2 separate regions of the Homo sapiens genome follow, and region 2 is linked to region 1. The links are contacts of gene promoters, found by promoter capture Hi-C in blood cells and fetal thymus (Javierre and others, 2016). All regions are on one chromosome and are shown on one strand. Each heading gives the region's core, a stretch centred on a gene start or on the middle of the fragment in contact. The rest is flanking DNA. Distances are from core to core; before and after follow the strand shown. Region 1 holds the start of PSMF1 (proteasome inhibitor subunit 1). Region 2 overlaps NSFL1C (NSFL1 cofactor).

The links. Contacts are between HindIII fragments. The CHiCAGO score rates a contact against its expected background, and 5 or more counts as called.
Region 2: a contact is called between a fragment that was not itself captured here and the fragment with the promoter of PSMF1 in region 1, in 1 of 17 cell types (non-activated CD4 T cells). The highest score is 5.1, in non-activated CD4 T cells.

Annotation. Positions count from the first base shown.
Region 1 is chr20:1,114,160-1,120,219 of GRCh38, reverse strand. PSMF1 (proteasome inhibitor subunit 1) reads right to left here and starts at 1,618. Exons shown (of 7, transcript NM_006814.5): 1 at 1,318-1,618. The coding sequence starts at 1,446. It overlaps LOC105372493 (a long non-coding RNA gene), which reads left to right and starts at 1,772. Exons shown (of 2, transcript NR_136535.1): 1 at 1,772-1,836; 2 at 2,232-2,368. RefSeq lists enhancers at 1,346-1,475, 1,516-1,705, 1,716-1,765, 1,776-1,825, 1,225-1,867. The HindIII fragment of the contact is 12,206 bases long and covers 1-6,060 here.
Region 2 is chr20:1,446,444-1,452,643 of GRCh38, reverse strand. NSFL1C (NSFL1 cofactor) reads left to right here. Exons shown (of 9, transcript NM_016143.5): 7 at 14-151. Among named protein-coding and RNA genes, the nearest start is that of NSFL1C, 17 kb to the left of the region's middle. The HindIII fragment of the contact is 2,629 bases long and covers 1,753-4,381 here.

The DNA.
Region 1 (6,060 bases), core at 369-2,868:
AGGTCTGGGGAAAAAAAGAGCCAGAAATCCCTGACGGTTCTTGTGTTCTGATTCCTGCTGGAGGGGGTAAAGTGTGAGAGGGGTATGGTGGTCTTGGTCTTTAGTTCTAAGAGACAGAGAGGAATAGGGACAGCAGTGAGGGGTGGGGGAAAGGGGATACTTGTCTAAGTGCTCAGAATGTACAAAGCAAGTTTGAAGAGAGGTCCCTAAAGCTATGTCAGGAGGGGAGAATTAAGACTCTATTTGAGAAGCTAAAAAAAATGATTAGAGGAGTTGAGAACTGAAGCAGTCAAAAAGGAGAGGAAGGGTGAAATCTCATGGCAAGATGCAATAGGTGGGGTGGTCTGTTTCCCATGGCTAGTCTTGGTTCTGAGAGTGAGAGAACAGTGACAGTGAGGGGCAGGCATGGAGGCAGGCCCACTTCTCCCAGGAAGCAGATGTCTAGGATGATGTGGATGTTGGGGATGAGGGTCACAGGGAAGAGACAGGAAAGAAAGAAGAATGCCAGAGCAAAGAATTAGTGAGGTGGGTTGGGTCCAGCAGTCCTAGAACTCTGTGGGGATGACAACGACGTCCCTAGCTGTAAGAGGTGGAGCCTGGGGATGGGAGAAGAGGGGCTGGCCCTATGGGGACAACTATGAGGAGAAAATCTTATATGACCCTCACACCCAGGGTGTATGTGTGTACGACTCTGGGGGTGATTGCTTCCTAGAGCTTGAGTTGGGGATGGCAGTAGCGAGTGGACTATGCTGGGCCCTTCAGTAAAGGGTGAAAGGCGTGTGAACTCTCTGGGCCCATGCTAACGGGTGAAAAAAGGGCCCTGGCCTGGGGCTGAGTAGGTCAAAGCTCACTCCTGTACCTGTGCTTGGATCCAGATGTTTGGTGGAGGCTCTACTGTGGTATGAGGGCGGAACTGAGTCAGTCCCCTCACCCCGAGGCTGGGTGGTAAGGAGTTCAGACGGGATCAGGTGGGTGAGAAGTGCTCTGGGGAGCTAAACTCCTGTCTAGATTCTTTGCCATTCTATGGAATGCTAGATCCACACAGTCCTGGCCTGAGAGGCTGCCAGGCTGTGTTGAAGCGAGTGTCCGCCCTTGAGTTTACAAATCATGTTGTGCCAGCTGTGCCGTGAGGGACTCTGGGCTGGGATGGGGCAGGTGAGCAACCTCCGACCCGCAGGTTTTACCAACGCTGCCATCTGCCCCAGACCCTGCACTGGGAGAAGCGGGGAAATCGGGCGCTCTGGACCAGGCCTCCGGTACTCTGAGTTTGGGCAGAAGACAGTTCCCTCCTCCACCCTGGCCGGCTCCGTGGCGTACCTGGTCACCGACACCCAAGCCGAAGTAACCGTGTGTCACCACTTCCCAATGCAAGAAGCAGACGAGCGCGTCCTGCCTGCAGGTGATGGCCGGCGCTGCCGATGCGAACAGTACCTCCAGGCCCGCCATGAGCGCCCGCGACTTCGGCGTCTGGAGGAAAGAAGGGGGCGGGGGTAGTGCAGTGAGCCGGCTCCGCGGCCGGGGTAGCTATAACTCTGCTTCCCTCTTGCGCTGGTTCTTGCCGAGTCCACACCTGAGACCAAAATGGAGACGCCCGGGGACGGGGCGGGGCGGGGAAGCCGGAAGTAGTCCCAACAGCGGGCGCAACTGCGTGAGGCGCGCCGGGTTGGCAACGCGAGCGCAGCACTGAAAGGTTCCGCCAGGGAGTGCGAGCGGGGCGTGGCCCCTCAAAGCCGGAAGCCGGGTCTTGGCGGCAGTCGACAGGATCGCCTGACGCGGGCACAGCGTCCTCCAAGAGGCCACCTTGCTGAGAGGCAGACTTCCCATCCACAAAATGGGGTATGCTAGGCCGGGGAAGGGGCTGGGAAATGTGGCTAAAATACATTCTTAATAATCGTTAACACGTTCGCCGTGCTTGCTACCGTCCACATTATTCTAAACGCTTTACTTGTATTCATTTATTTAATCTTCACAACCCAACTCTATGCAGTTGATATTAACGATTAATGTGCCTCATTGCACAGATGAGGAAACTGAGGCGCAGAGGGATAATTTGACCAAGATGACAACAGCCAGCCGGTGAACGGCTGAAATGGTTATGGGAACCTGGCAGTCTGGCTTCTAAGATAACATTTATTAAGTGTTTATTGTGTGCTACATCGTGCGCTAAAACCTTTACATCACCCTCTCAACAACTCTATGAAGTATGGACCGTTATTATCCCCATTTTGCAGATGACAAAACGGCTCAGAGTTGAAACCACTTCTCCAAGGAGACACAACTGCTGCCCGCAGAGCTGAAGCTCCTGACCCACTATCAAATTTCAATCATTTATTTGCCTACCCCCTTTATGATTTTTACCACCCGTTACTTCAACAAGTTTCATGAAATCCACTTATTGTTTTTACCCAAATAAATTTAGTTTCCCCATCCCAGTCACTAACCTGGTTCAAGCTCCTGTCATCTTTCACTTGGATGCCTGGCATCAGCCTCAGAACTGCCCCATTCCATTCCTGTCTCTCTCTAGTCTGTACTGCACTCCGCAACCAGAGAGATTCTGTTAGAAAACAAGTCAGATCGGCCAGGTGTGGCGGCTCATGCCTGTAATCCCAGCACTTTGTGAGGCCGAGGCAGGCGGATCACTTGAGGTCAGGAGTTTGAGACCAGCCTGGCCAACATGGTGAAACCCTGTCTCTACTAAAAATACAAAAATTAGCTGGGTGTGGTGGCGCACGCCTTTAGTCCCAGGTACTCGGGAGGCTGAGGCATGAGAATCAATCGAACCCGGGAGGTGGAGGTGGAGGTTGCAGTGAGCCAAGATCGCACCATTGCACTTCAGCCTGGGCAACAGAGCGATCTTCTGTCTCAAAAAAGAAAAAAAAAAAAAAAGAAAAGTCAGATCACATCCGTTGGCTCAAAATCGTCACACTCAATGGAAAAGTAAAGTCCTCCCCATGGTCTGCAGGAATCTGCATGTGGTCTGCCATCTCCTGCCCCAGCCCTGCCAGCCCTGTACCTCTCTGATTCAGTCTCCTTCAACTGTCCTCTCATCCCCTTTATACGTGCAATAACCTTGGCTCCCCCTCTTCTCTCACATCTACATCTGGTCCAACAGCAAAGCTAGTTGACTCCACTCTCAAAATATATTATGAATCTGACCACTTCCCATCACCTTCACTGCTTCCACTCTGGTCTGATCCTCCAGCATCTCACACTTAGACTATTGCAGTAGCTTCCCAGCCAGTTTCCCTGTTTCATGTGTTCTGTTTGGGCCTTTGCGTTCCTCTTCCTGGAATGCTCTTTTCCCAGATATCTGCATGTCTTGCTTCTTCATTTCAAGTGGCTTCATCCCTCACTCCTACCATCCTCAACAGAGGGCTTCCCAGACCATTCCATCCAAAATAACCTTCTCCCGTCTTTAATCCCTCTCTGGCTTTTTTTTTTTCCTGCAAAGCATTAATCATAACCTGAAACTATGTTAGGTGTTTATTTCTTTGCTTATTTAATGACTGTCTTTCCACTAGACTGTGACAAAGGAACAGGGAGCATGTCTACCTTGTGCACATATGTACCTGAGTGCCTTCTGGGATCAATCTATACTTATTGAAAGACAGAATGAATACTGAATGAAGGAATGAATTCTTGGCCTAGCCCCAACCCAGTCAGGGCACTCTTACCTCTTTATAGTCCATCACTCCCTTTGTCAGCTGGCCCTGTGCCTCTCCAAATTTTGTGTTCCTAAAGTTTCCTTGAGACAACCAGATTCTTGAACCCCTTCTGCAGAGATTCTGGATGAGAAGGTCTGAGGAAGAGTGCATGTATGTTGACTACATTCTGGATGACACTAAAGCTAGTGGCTGTGGAACTCCTCTCTGAGATGTACTGCCTGTGGCATAAAGCTATTTGCCCTTTCTACTGAGAAGTTCTGCACTTTCAGTCTTCCCTGCTTTTGCTTGCTCTGTCCCTTCTGTTTGTAATGCCCTTATCCAATTATGGAAAATTTCTACAGATTCATTCCATCAATAAACTTTCATAGGCTGGGCTGCCATGAACCATAGTGCAGGGTGTCCACTTAAGGTGCCTACTTAGTGGCAGCCCATTCCTAAGTGCCTACTGTGGGCCAGACACAGATGAACAGGTTCCTGTCCCTATAGAGCTCACTGTCTAGTGTTTAAAAAAAAAAAAAAGTACTGGCCAGGCATGGTGGCTCACACCTGTAATCCCAGCACTTTGGGAGGCTGAGGCAGGTGGATCACGAGGTCAGGAGTTCAAGACCAGCCTGGCCAACATGGTGAAACCCTGTCTCTACTAAAAATACAAAAATTAGCCGGGCGTGGTGGCAGGCACCTGTAATCCCAGCTATTCGGGAGGCTGAGGCAGGAGAATCGCTTGAACCCGGGAGGTAGAGGTTGCAGTGAGCCGAGATCAAGCCACTGCACTCTAGCCTGGGTGATAAAGAGAGACTGTCTCAAAAAAAAAAAAAAAGTGGATTAAGGATCAAAAGGTGTTCCAGTAAAAGGAAACAGTATGTGCAAAGGCATGGTGGAATGCAGCTAGCTCTGTGGGATTACAAGGTCAATGTTGCCTCCTGAGTGAGGTTTCCCTCGTCTCTTTGCCCATGATTAATTGCACTTTCCTCAGTGTGCTTGGCATCAGTGGGCTTTCAAGGGGTGGGCATGGGACAGTGAGAGCTATCAGCCTTAGTCAGGTGGAGAATTTTATCAATGAAGTTGATTCAAATTGCTGGTACATGATGACAGTAAAAAGTGGACTGGCCTTTGGTCTGTTTTGTTACTGCCTTTACGTTTTCTACAGCAAATGTACCTACTCCTTGTCTGCACCAGGGCAGACAGCTCCGTCACCCCCACCCCTTGGTTCAACACTGGTTTGCATACAGTTGGTTGTAGCTGGCATCTTACAGGGCAGACAGCTCCGTCACCCCCACCCCTTGGTTCAACACTGGTTTGCATACAGTTGGTTGTAGCTGGCATCTTACAGGGCAGACAGCTCCGTCACCCCCACCCCGTGGTTCAACACTGCTTTGCATACAGTTGGTTGTAGCTGGCATCTTACAGGGCAGACAGCTCCGTCACCCCCACCCCTTGGTTCAACACTGGTTTGCATACAGTTGGTTGTAGCTGGCATCTTACAGGGCAGACAGCTCCATCACCCCCACCCCTTGGTTCAACACTGGTTTGCATACAGTTGGTTGTAGCTGGCATCTTACAGGGCAGACAGCTCCGTCACCCCCACCCCTTGGTTCAACACTGGTTTGCATACAGTTGGTTGTAGCTGGCATCTTACAGGGCAGACAGCTCCGTCACCCCCACCCCTTGGTTCAACACTGGTTTGCATACAGTTGGTTGTAGCTGGCATCTTACAGGGCAGACAGCTCCGTCACCCCCACCCCTTGGTTCAACACTGCTTTGCATACAGTTGGTTGTAGCTGGCATCTTACAGGGCAGACAGGTCCGTCACCCCCACCCCTTGACACTGGTTTGCATACAGTTGGTTGTAGCTGGCATCTTACAGGGCAGACAGCTCCGTCACCCCCACCCCTTGGTTCAACACTGGTTTGCATACAGTTGGTTGTAGCTGGCATCTTACAGGGCAGACAGCTCCGTCACCCCCACCCCTTGGTTCAACACTGGTTTGCATACAGTTGGTTGTAGCTGGCATCTTACAGGGCAGACAGCTCCGTCACCCCCACCCCTTGGTTCAACACTGCTTTGCATACAGTTGGTTGTAGCTGGCATCTTACAGAACACTGGTTCCCTCTTCTACACCATCATCCCTGTCTTAACATGTATTCTCTCAGAAGCCCGTGGTGAGACAGGGATTTGAGTGGTTTATTTGGGAGCTGATTCCAGGAAATAGCGGTGGGGGCAGTGGAGTAGGGAAGTGAGACAGGAAGGAAAGGGAGCCAGCAGAGGGAGTGTGATGAAGCCAGTTACCTCTACGGGCAACTGGACCGCACTCCTACCCGGGAACTCTGGGAGGCAGTGTGGGGCATGTCTCAGAGCTATTGCATTTGAGGGCATCTGCCACAGGCTGAGAGCTGCT
Region 2 (6,200 bases), core at 1,818-4,317, 330 kb before region 1:
TTTTCTTCCACAGGGAGGTGCCAGCAGAGCTTCGGAGGCTAGCTCACGGTGGACAGGTGAACTTGGATATGGAGGACCATCGGGACGAGGACTTTGTGAAGCCCAAAGGAGCCTTCAAAGCCTTCACTGGCGAGGGTCAGAAACTGGGCAGGTAAGGGGCAGCACAGGTTAGAGCCAGACTCTGTCAATCACACCTGCCAAGCCCAGCAGACCCTGTGTATCACTCACTTTGGTTATTAGCTCTTTACTGTTTACAAAATACTTCAAATTTTATTTGTATGGGAGGAAGAGTGTGGAGAACATGGACTGGAGTTAACAGACCTGAGTTTATATCTCTGCTTCACTTTCTAGCAGTGTGACCTTGGACTATATAGCCTCAGTTTCCTCAACTATAAATTGGTACTAATAAGAGTCCATACCTCCTAGGATTATTGTTGCAAGGAATAAGTGAGCTGATGCATGTAGAACACTGTTCCATAGTGAGCAGTCAATGTAAGCAGAAAGTGTACGTAATTGCTGCTGTGGCTCAGTAATCTAGGGTGTTCAGGGAAGGTGTCATCTCCTTGATGGCTTAAGGCTGAAATGAGGATTCCAAGGGGAATAAGAAATTACAGACTCTTGCCTAGCCAGGCCTCACAGTGTGTTGCTCAGGATGCAGGGACACTCAGGAACCTTGCTGCCCCTTTGCAGGCTGGTGTGCCACCATTATGACAGCTCAGCAGCTCTTATTTCTACTTATTTGGCCCTTCCTGACACTCACTCTGCCACTTGTGACTTTTTCTGCATTGTGTCCTCTGCTACTGCCTTCTCACTCCTGTACCCTCTACTAACAGACATTCTCTATCTTCCATTCAAAGCCTCTGATGATATCTGATTGGTTAATAGTCACTGGTATCCCTCATACGGTTCTCCCACCAGACTCTTGGCCAGCCCATAGGTAGGCTGCCTTCTCTCAGGATCCACTTAGCTTTGGCCATGGCCATGGGGTCACCTGATGAGTGTTCTTCAGAGGGAACTGTGCACATGATAGGCATTTAGAGCATAGTGACCCTCCTTGCCAATATGATCCTTATTTTGTAGAGAGAAAGCTGAGGCTCTTGGATATTAGGGGCCTTTCCTTGGGCACATGGCTGGTGTGTGTTAGAGCCAAGACCCCAGGCCTTCTGACTGGCATTCCTTCCTGCACTCCTGCACAATGAGACATCCTTTCTAACCTAGATCTGGCAGTTCTCAAAGTAGCTACTGCCCTTGCTCACCTCACTATCTTCAGAGATCAAAGCTTGGTCTTCCAACAACCATGCCCTCTGAGCTTCTGGCTGGCCCTCTCCTGGAATCCCTTACCTGCCTGTTGACCATTCATGCCTCATCAGGAGCAAGGGTCAGAGTTCAGGGTATTAGATTTACCTGGCCCAAAGTAGTTAAGTCATCCCTGTTCTCATCATTTCATCTACTGCATCAAGGGCTGTGGACTAGCCCAGGACAGCTATTCTCACAGAGAGTGTCCCTGTCAGTTGTGATGAGCTTTATAGGGCACCTAATTTTTTTTTTCTTTGATTATTAAAATAATACATGTTCATCTTAATAGAAAGTGCAGGTAAAGAATAAAAGCTGTCCTGAAGCTAACACCCAGAAATATCTGGCAAGTGTATCTTTCTTCTCTTACTCATTTGCATGTATTTGTAAACATGCTGTTGTATCACCTGCTTTTTACTTTATCAGTGAAGTATGGCTATCATCCTTTATCAGTAAGCTTATTTCTACACTTTTAATTATAATGCTTACATAATTTTCTAGCCCATAAATGTGCCATAATTTAACCAGTCCTTGCTGTTAAACATTTAGGCAGCTACCAGAATTACAACATTGCAGTGAATATCTCTGTGATTAAATCTTTGTACACTTGGGCTAGACATATGATTATTGTTTCAAAAGGGCTTCATACTTTTAAGATGTCAAATTGCCCTTCAAAAAGGCTATATTTTTTATGCCCACCACCAGTTACAAGGGAGGGCTCAGAACTTCAGAACACCATGCACTTTGGGTATGATTTTATAATACTAACAGGAAATGTTTCTATTGGAAAGTCTAACCATATTATGTGTGTGAAACTCTGCATCTCAGAAAATTAAAATATCTTTAAAGTCTATTTTAGCATGATAGGAATAAATATTAATGTGGAGAATGAGCACAAGATAGAACTTGATATCACCATGATGTTTATCAACAAAGTGTTCACTGCCAGTTCCACTTGCATTTTATTTCAGTTCTGGCTTTTTATGAAAACTTAGCTTAAAAAAAAAACAGCCACAGTTTTATAAAGTTAAGTGAGATGGGACTTTAGCTTTTCAGTCTAAATCAGGACAGCTGCTTTAGTTTTTCTCATAAATTTTACTATGTTTTTCATTGTCTTGTGAACCAAAATGATCAGAAGCCAAAAGTCTTGAACTTTTCTTGAAATTTTTCCTGAAAATTTTCTCAGATTTGCTTCAAAAATCAGTCAGTACTGGGCTTTTTCAAAATCTTAATTATCTGGGAAAATACTTCAAGTGAATGAATAAGTTGTCTCAGTTAAAATATTTTGAGAAAATTCAGTTGTATTAAATTTTTTTTGTTGTTTTAGTAAAAGGCAAAAGATGTATACAATCTGAAGAGAAACCGGAGAATTTTGTTGTTGTTTTAGGTTTTACGTTAGTTTGTTTGAGTTGGGAGCTGATCTGAAGGTTCGAATTGCAAACAGCAAGAGTGCACTTGGGAGGAGGGGTCACTGCTGCTGGAAGTGAGCTTTAGCTGCTCCCGTGCCTTCTGTAGTGGTTATTTTTGTGGAGAAGATGGCTGGTCTCAGGATTTGTAACTGTGGCAAGAAAGTACCTAGTGCCAGTTTATTCCCCCTGTAAAGATAGGAGGAGTTGGGTGATTCGGGCTCTTGAATTGAGACTCATTTTCCCCATAACTTACGATGTTTGCAGGGAGACACCAAAAAACACTATTTATAGACGTCTGCTCTAACCTTTCCTGCCTGTGAATCAAGCACCCTCACAGCTGCAGATGGCCAGCCGCTCACTGGGAGCAGTAGCCCAGCTGTTGGCAGTTCTCAGGAAGAGCTGGCAGGCCAGCTCCTTTGAACAGATGCGTGTGGCTGCCCTGCGGGATGATTAGAGCACTATGGAACTAATATTCTTTGAATGATGTGCTCTTATTATTTGAAAAATCAGGAGGCCTGGTCTTCAGGTTTCCCCTCCTCTTCCACTCCCCATCCTCCTTGAGAGCAGTATAGACTGGGAATGCCTGTCAGGTGACCTTCCACTTACAGCCCATGGCAGCTGATAGCATTTCTAGTCGATTTTGGTCCAGAATTGAGGCAAATATAAGTGGGGCAGGACCTTGAAGAATGATATAATTAGTTAGTCGAGTGTTTTATGTTGTTAGCTAAGCGCTATGCTAAGTATTTCATTTATTTTATCTTCTTTAATCCTGTTTTAATCCCCATTCTACAAAGAAGGATCCTGAGACTTGGTGAGATCCATATTGCTGGCCAGTGCAGAGCTGGGTCCCTCCAGTCTCTGCCTTTACCTGCCAACCTGCATAGCATCCTGGATATTCTTGCATAGCCACATAGACATTTGTTTGTACTTTTAGTATGTGTTGGGTACAGTGCATGTTTTTAGCTATTTTCTCAAGTATCTGGGAAGTTTTAACTCTGTTTTATTGATGAGGAAACTGGGTCTTGAAATCCAGGCCTATACCTGTCTGAGTGTAAGGCCCAACAGGAGAGTGGGACAGTGTGAAGAGCACAGGATGGAGAGCCAAATAGCTCGGATTGTATACTGCCTCTACCGTGAACCAACACTGGGATTTTGGGCAAGTTGCTTCACCCTGCTGTGCCTCAGTTTCTTCATCTGTAATGAATCCCTACCTCATAGGCTGGGGGTTAAGCCTGTGGGTTAAGTAAGTTAATACATGTGAAGTACTCAGCACAGGGCCTGGCTTAGGAATGGGTGCCTCATAAATAGTCACCATGTTTATCAGGCCACCCTGCCTCACCTAATTTTTAGGGAGTGTGTAAGAGAAACAGCCAGTCAGAAGCTACACAGCCAAGTCCAGGCATCAGGCTTTCCTCATCTCTTCCAGTGATGACCCACCAGCAGTCTGCAATGGGACGTGCTGGGAAGCAAACCCAAACAGCAGCTGCTTCCTTGTGTGGAGGATTTCCTAAATACCAGGCCTTGCGTGCACATTATCTCGTCTCATCCTCACAACAGAACAGCTCCTCATTTTACACACAAAGACACTGAAGCCCTGGGAAGTTGTGACTTGCTTAAGGCCACACTGTCTGTTTAGAGGCAGAGCAGAGGCCAAATGGTGGTGGCTCAGCTCCAAAGCTTGTGCCATTTCTCTGGCATCACACCAACTCTCCTTGATAATAGGGACAGTAGGGACTGCTTCCCCAAAAGGCGTGGAGCTGTGGTAAGGAGAGTATCTCCACTTTATAGAAAAGGAAATTGAGGTGCCAAGATGCTCAGTAACTTGCTGAGGGTCATCAGCTCATAAGTGAGGAGTGAAACTCAAGGAGAAGTTTGAGAAAGCATTTCCAATATAAATATTATTTTTCTAAAACCATCGTAATTGTAAAGCTTGACAAAATCCTGGCTGGTGGGAATACACAGAATATATACTGAAAGGAGGCTTGTTCATTGCATTAGTTTTTAAAAATGATCCATAGCGTGTGTGTGTGTTTTCTCATCTATAAAATGGAGATACACCCCTCTCAGAGGATGGTTGTGGTGATTCAGCGAGGTCGTGGCTGTGAAAGCCCCTTTAGACAATACCTGCACAGAGTCGGTGTAAATGTCACTCCTGTTTTTTCTGCTCCCCACCCCCTTAACTGATATCAGCTATTTTGGCTTAACAGCTTCTTTCTCATCTTAGGCCTGCCTGAAAACGTTATAGTTCCCTTTCTGGCAGGCGGTGGTTTCAATGAGTACGTATACTTTGAATTATTATAAATAGTTGAGGGACAGGCTGCCTAAAGTCTAATTGGAGAGTTAACCTAATGTCTGTGAAACTAATGAACAAAACGAGATAGTGTAGATCAGGAATGTCCAGTCTTTTGGCTTCCCTGGGCCACTTTGGAAGAATTGCTTTGGGCCACACATAAAATACACTGATACTAATGATAGCTGATGAGCTAACAACAACAAAAAGCAAAAAAAAAAAAAAACTCATAACATTTTAAGAAAGTTTACAAATTTGTGTTGGGCTGCATTCAAAACTGTCCTGGGTCGCATACGGCCCATGAGCCATGGGTGGTTGGACAAGCTTGGTGCAGAGCTTAGGCATTTACAGGTATATGAGATTTACCTATTCACTATTTCCAATCAACTCTTGTGGCCTATCGTAGTGTCATTTAAACTGTGTGTCCCAGCCCACACTTTTTGAGTCCCACATGCTTTGAGGCTGATGCAGAGAAGCAGCTTCTCTAGTGCTAGTAATGTGGGTGACATTCTCCTCTGAGCTCTACTTTGTAATTCTGTAAGTCCATGTTTTTCACATTCACAGAAAAGAGTAAGTTTGCTTTTCAGTCATTCTTTAATTATATGCTTCAGGGCAATATTTAACTGTGCAATCTCTCAAAACCTTTAATGTGCCAATGGCCTCTGAAGCTGCTAGTGTAATATGTGGCCTTTCCTACACCTTCCTTCCTATGGAACACACTTTGGAAAGCACTTTCAGTTGGATTTGCTCTCAGTACCATTTTTGGGGCTGTGAAGGGGGAAGAGTAAGTTACAAGAACTGATCTAATTAGAGGCTTTGAGGGGAAGCAAATGCTCATCTAGTGGCCTTTCTTCTTTGCAAAGGTCTAAGTCAGGTCATCTGCTAAGAGAAAGACTGGGAGTGAAGTGGACAGGTGGTTTGGAGGAGAGAAGGCGGCTCCATACAGTTGTGGAGAATTGGGAGTCCTATGTGCATTTTGTGTTTGTCAGCCATCCTGAGTGCATTATGCAATTTTCCCCTTTAATCCTAACAAAAACTGAGCAAGGCCTATGCCTTAACCCTTTAAAAATCTAATTACTACCTTTGTTGAAACTAAGGGTGCTTGAGTAATTCAAACCCTGGTCCATGTGATTCTGAGATATGAAATCTAACACTGTGTCTGACACCGTGTCCTGTTCATTGTATGATGAATCCCAGCAGAACCCAGC